2 separate regions of the Homo sapiens genome follow, and region 2 is linked to region 1. Evidence: promoter capture Hi-C in human tissues and cell types (Jung and others, 2019). All regions are on one chromosome and are shown on one strand. Each heading gives the region's core, a stretch centred on a gene start or on the middle of the fragment in contact. The rest is flanking DNA. Distances are from core to core; before and after follow the strand shown.

Region 1 (2,949 bases), core at 239-2,738:
ACTACAGACGTGGGCCACCATGCCCAGGCTAATTTTTATATTTTTTTTGTAGAGATGGGGTCTCAGTATGTTGTCCAGGCTGGCCTCAAACTCCTGGGCTCATGCAATCCACCTGCCTCGGCCTCCCAAAGTGCTGGGATCACAGGTGTGAGCCATCACACCCGGCCCTTCTAGGTCTTTCTATCTTCCTGCTCCACCATCCTTACTTAGCATGATGGTTTTTGCATTCATTTATGTAACTTAATGGATGCAAGACACATGCCACAGATCTGAACAGAATAAATGTTTTCAAGGCAGAAAGAAAGGGGGAGGGGAAGTCCCAGCCTTAGCTGTCCTTTTTATGAGGAAAGCAAAAACTTTTCCAGAAACACCTCAAAAAGACTTCCCCTTAAATATCACTGGCCAGCACTGGGTCACACTGCTACCCCTTGTGGCAAGTGAGGCTAGAAATTCTAGTTTTGACAAAGTGAAATATAATTTCATGACTAGTTTGGACCAAAACTGATTGCCCCACCCCTCCATCGACCTCTCCTGGAGACTAATTACACTTGCTCTGAGCCCCCAGAGCATGCTGGGCCTCTCTGATCCTAGCGACATATGCACTGTACAGCGGTTGCTTTTTTTTTTTTTTTTTTTTTTGAGACGGAGTCCCCCTCTGTCGCCCAGGCTGCAGTGCAGTGGCGCTATCTCGGCTCACTGCAAGCTCTGCCTCCCGGGTTCACGCCATTCTCCTGCCTCAGCCTCCCGAGCAGCTAGGACTACACGCACCCACCACCACGCCCGGCTAATTTTTTTTTTTGTATTTTTAGTAGAGACGGGGTTTCACTGTGTTAGCCAAGATGGTCTCGATCTCCTGAACTCGTGATCCGCCCGCCTCGGCCTAGCGGTTGCTCATTTTTTGCAGCCCCCACCCCTTGCTAGGATTTCTAAACAGGTGCCCACATCCTTGTATCCCCAGCACTTAACACAGTGCCTAGCTTCATTCCACCGGTTTATTTGAGTGACTGCCATGTGCGAGGCTCTGTGCAAATAAAGCAGGCGATTGGTGAACATTTCCTGGATGGATGGAGGGATGGATGGATGGACTGATGGGTGGATAGATGGATGGATATCATCACTGTGCAGTGGTTCCCATCAGGGCAGCCTGAGTCTCCCCACCCCCTCCCCTCATCCCTCTCACTCCAGGCTGTCATTTCACTTTCCTAAAAGCCTTCCCTTTGCCCATGATGCCAATGACTAGCTCTGTCCTGAAGCAATAGCTAGTACTTTCCCTCCTTCCTGCCACCTAGCATCCAGCCGAACCTTGAATCAATACCAGTAAAATGGGTGTGAACGGAAGGAGGCTGCTCATTATTTGCCATTATTTACCTCTGAGTCTGTGCATTCCCATTCCTTCCCATATTAATTCTCTCCCGCGCAACACCCCCCCCCCCCCGCCCCCCCATCCTTGGGAACTGGTTCAACCAGAGTACAACCAGCTCATCTGCATCTGGCCCTAAAGAACCTGCGGCAGCCAGAGGCGGAGGAAGAGAGAAGGCTGCATAGGAGCTGCAGCGCGGTGCGGCCAGCACACACCCCGGCCCGCGAGGCCCCGGGCTCGCCCATGAGGCCTCTGCCCAGCGGGAGGAGGAAGACCCGAGGCATCTCCCTAGGACTCTTCGCCCTCTGCCTGGCCGCAGCCCGCTGTCTGCAGAGTAAGCTCCGGGGGACGCCCCGGGTGCTGGGGGAGCGGGAATGGGTAGGGGGGCACGGGCGGGGCCCCGGGGTCTAGCAGCGGCCCCCCTGGCCCTCGCCCACCTTGTCCGGCTGAGGGCGCGCGGTGAGCTCGGCTGGCAGGCACCGCGCCGCTTCCTCGTGGGGCTGGGCGAGGCCTGGAGACCCGGCGCCGACCGTAGCGGGAGGGGCTGGGCAAAGCAGAGGCTACCGGCCGCGGCGCCCCGGCCCACTTCGGGGCGCCCGCCCCACCCGGCGAGCCCGGCCTACGGTTATCAGAGCTGGAAGGTGGCCCAGAGATAACCGGCTCCCAGCCCTGTGGCCGCCGCCTCTGCAACATTTTTTATTTCTTTTTCCTGGAATAACCAGATTGCAGTCCGTGCGCCGCCCCCTACTGTGGGGACCCCTCCATGGCCTTCCTGGTCATCTCCCAGGAGAATAATCAGGCCTCCTTATCAGTCAGACGAACCCACAGCAGCCTGCTCCCGTGAGAAAAACGGTTCTGGGGTTTGGGTTGGGCGTTGTGGCCTGAAGTCCCCAGGCTGGAGGTGGTCCTCGCGACCAGCGCACTGAGTAGATTTGCTTTGGATGGCCGGACCCGGAATCCCCAGCCTGGTGAGCCTGGATGCGAAGCGTAGTCCCAGAGGCTCTCTTGGACACAAACAACAGATCTTAGCACAGTTTTACTTTCTCATTTAATCATTACCATTCGCACTCCCATCTTACACATGGGCCAACTGAGGTTTAGAGAATGACAGAGCAGGGCCGCTGGAGGTGAGAGGCCTTGTAGTAAGAGCCAGCACTTATTAAGCATTTATGCATTCACCATCCCTCAGACTTTACAAGACCTCTCTCATTTAGTCCTTAGGGCAACCCTAATAAACTACTCTTATTCCTGTTTCACAAGTGAGGAAACTGAGGCACAGAAATGTTATAAGCCAATCGCAGGGGCTCATGCCTGTATTCCCAGCATTTTGGGAGGCCGAGGCCAGCGGATCCCTTGAGTCCAGGAGTTCAAGACCAGCCTGGGCAACATGGCAAACTGTCTGTAGTAAAAATATGAAAAAATTAGCTGGGTGTGGTGGCCTGTGCCTGTAGGCCCAGCTACTGGGGTGGGCGGCGGGGGAGCTGAGGTGAAAGGATCACTTAAGCCCAGGAGATTGAGGCTTCAGTGAGCCCTGATTGTGCCACTGCACTCTAGCCTGGGGAACAGAATGAGACCTTCTCCAAAGCGAA
Region 2 (2,918 bases), core at 233-2,732, 1.0 Mb before region 1:
GTCTACCGTGCTGTCTCAGAGCTGGGGCCTGCAGTACATGGCAGGGTACCATCAGCCAATTTCCCTCCAAATGCCGAGGGTGGCGGGGGCTTGATAGATATGTCCAGAGATCCTGGTGTACATCCTCCAACAAGGACAAAGATCAAATTGTTTATCATACTTGTGACCTCAATTAGACTTGAACATGGAGGTTGCATGATGCTGTGGAAACGTCCTGACTTTTAAAGTCATCCAGGCCTGGGCTCAAATGCCACCCTGCTGCTTACTTGGGTAAGTGTAGACCTTGGTAATCTTCTTAGCCTCTCTGAATCTCACTGTCCTTGCTGTTATGAGGACCAAATGCCACGGATGACATAAAATGCTTGGCGCACAGTAGGAAATCAGTCCACTTCCCTGCCCCTCGTCTACCTTCAGGGCAGGATCACCATGGCATTCTGTATTATCTGGCTTCCCCCCAAGATCTGAAGCATGCTGGGCACATAATTAATTTTTAGTAGTAACCTGATGAGTGAATCATAAACTGGGCTTCTTTTTACAGGCTATTCCTAAAGCTAAATATTTGTAAAACTCTGATAGATGCTCTGCAAAATGGAAGTGCCAGGGACAAGGGAAGGATCAATGTCATCAACTCACTGAACAAAGTCAGACTGGACTAGGGCTGAGTCGAATTATGCCAGGAAAATGTGTTCTCTAGGCCAAAGGGTAGGGCACTGGATGGAAAAATCAGCCCCTCAGAGAGCTGAAAGAGGGTTTCTGGATGGAAACAGGGCATTCCAGGCCAGACTGGGCTGAGCCATCAAGCTGGGGCCATGGTGCTGTTGAGTCCTTGGGATCCCAATGTCATCATGAAAATCATCAATTTTTTTAGTGCCTGGACAGGCGAATGGAAACATTTTGATGCACTGGAGGAACACAGGGCCAGCATTTGGCCAGGCCTGACTTATATATTGCAAGTTTTGGCCTCTTTCTTAGGAGAGAAAACATCTCCCCAGATTCCCCATGCTCTTAGCTCTCCCTTATTGCTGGGGAAATGCTCTGCGGAGCTGGGTGGTGGTGCAGGAGCACCCTCAGGTTTCAGTAAACTCCCCTTCCTCCACACAAAGGAACACATACCACCATAAACCACAATAAGAGAGATCTACACGTGCTGCCTAGGAAACCTGTCTATGACCTACTGTTGAATGAAAAAAACCTAGTTGTATGAGTAGCATGGTCTTATATTCATTCACTCATATCTATTTATTTGGTTGTACATATCTGTAGAGGAGCCTAGAAGGAAATCCTCCAGACTTAACAGAATGGCTACATGCAGCAATTTAGAGGAGGTAGTGGCTTCTTCGTATTCTCCTCTGTATTCTCATTTGATTGTTTTTAAAAACAAATAGCATTACTTGCACAGTAATTTTTAAATAAAATTTTACTTAAGGATCTCTGCTTCCAGTTCCCCTGACAACAGTCACTGAACATATGCAATAAGAAGCTTGGGAGAATTCACAGTCGGTTTAACTTTTAATGAGCATCTACTCTAGGTACAAGTCGGGGTTCCTACCCCAAACAGATGAGCTGACAGACACTTGTGTACGTAGTTCACTATAACAGGAGACGGCTTGGGGCAAGAGCTGGATGGATGCTATGATGCACAGCACTGTCATTTTAGATACATTACAACTCTTCTCTCATTAAATCCTTGACTCATTCAGTCAACACTCAAGGGTTGACTCATTCAGTCAACACTCAAGCACCTGTGGTATGCCAGCAACTGCATTAGGTGCCTGATTCACATTAATGAAAAAACAGACATGGTACTTGCTCCATGACATCTTGCAAAGAAGAAGTTTTCAGAAGTTCAACAACTTTCTCCAGGTGACTCAGCTAATAATGGAAGAGGAGCAATTAATTTTGACCCTGGTGACGGGAAATACCTTCCTGAGAAAAGTGACATTTGAGCCTCACCTTGAAGAATGAGTTAGATTGGACAGATGGACATCGCAATCCCAGAGGCATCCCAATCCCAGGGACCCCACGGATAGGTGCAGAAATGGAAACACACAAAGTAGATTATGGACACAGTGTGGTTCCTAGAGCAACTTGAAGGTAGGGGTGGAAAGGGAAGTGGAGAGAAACTAGTCAGGGAAGAGGGCAGGGGTCAGACTGTGCAGGGCATGAATGCCACAGCTTTATCCTGAAGGCCACAGGGGGCTAATAGTGCTGTGGCAATTTCCCTCAAAAGAGTGACATTATCAGACATCCCTCTAGAAACTCGGGTTGGGGAAGAACAGTGTGGTCTGGAGGCTCTGGAGCCAGTCTATCTGGGCTTGGATCCCAGCCCTGCACTCACAAGCTCTAGGACTTTGGGCAAGAGGCTTAAATTCCCTACTTCTTAGTTTCTCCATCAGTACAATGGAACTATAATAACAGTGATTGTAAGAATTCAATGTGCTAATATGGGAAAGGCTCACGGGAGGTTGGGTGCATAATGACAATGAATCAATGTCATTATTACTCTTGTTTCTCTGGTGTCCTTGTCAAGAATAGAGTAGGATGAGACAGTAGGCAGAAGGCTACTGTAATTGTCCATGAGAGAGATGAAGTCTTGAACTAAGGCCATGGGGATGGAGAAAATAAAAGTACAGAAGCAACATGGGAGGGTGAAGTAGGCAGGAACAGGTGACCAACTAGCTAAAGGAGAGAGTGGGGGAGGAGCCCAAGGTGACTGGGGACCCTAGCAGAGATGACTGAGTAGATGGGGCAGAAGCAGAGCCATGTATATGGAAGGGAAGGCACCAAGGTTCAGGTGATCGGGAAACCAGGCATAGATGCCTGTCAGGTACAATCAAGAATTTCATTAGACTCACAGACACTTCCATTTTACACTCAGCACTCCTGGGCCACAAGTTCTGTGGCTTCACAAGGTACCT

Evidence for each region. Contacts are between HindIII fragments. The study calls those that stand out against the background at their distance.
Region 2: a fragment that was not itself captured here is called in contact with the fragment with the promoter of VSTM5 in region 1 in 1 of the 25 tissues and cell types used here (dorsolateral prefrontal cortex).

What each region holds. Positions count from the first base shown.
Region 1 is chr11:93,849,157-93,852,105 of GRCh38, reverse strand. It overlaps VSTM5 (V-set and transmembrane domain containing 5), which reads left to right and starts at 1,488. Exons shown (of 4, transcript NM_001144871.2): 1 at 1,488-1,694. The coding sequence starts at 1,604. The HindIII fragment of the contact is 15,680 bases long and covers 1-2,949 here.
Region 2 is chr11:94,879,173-94,882,090 of GRCh38, reverse strand. No RefSeq gene overlaps it. Among named protein-coding and RNA genes, the nearest start is that of CWC15, 93 kb to the left of the region's middle. The HindIII fragment of the contact is 5,689 bases long and covers 1-2,918 here.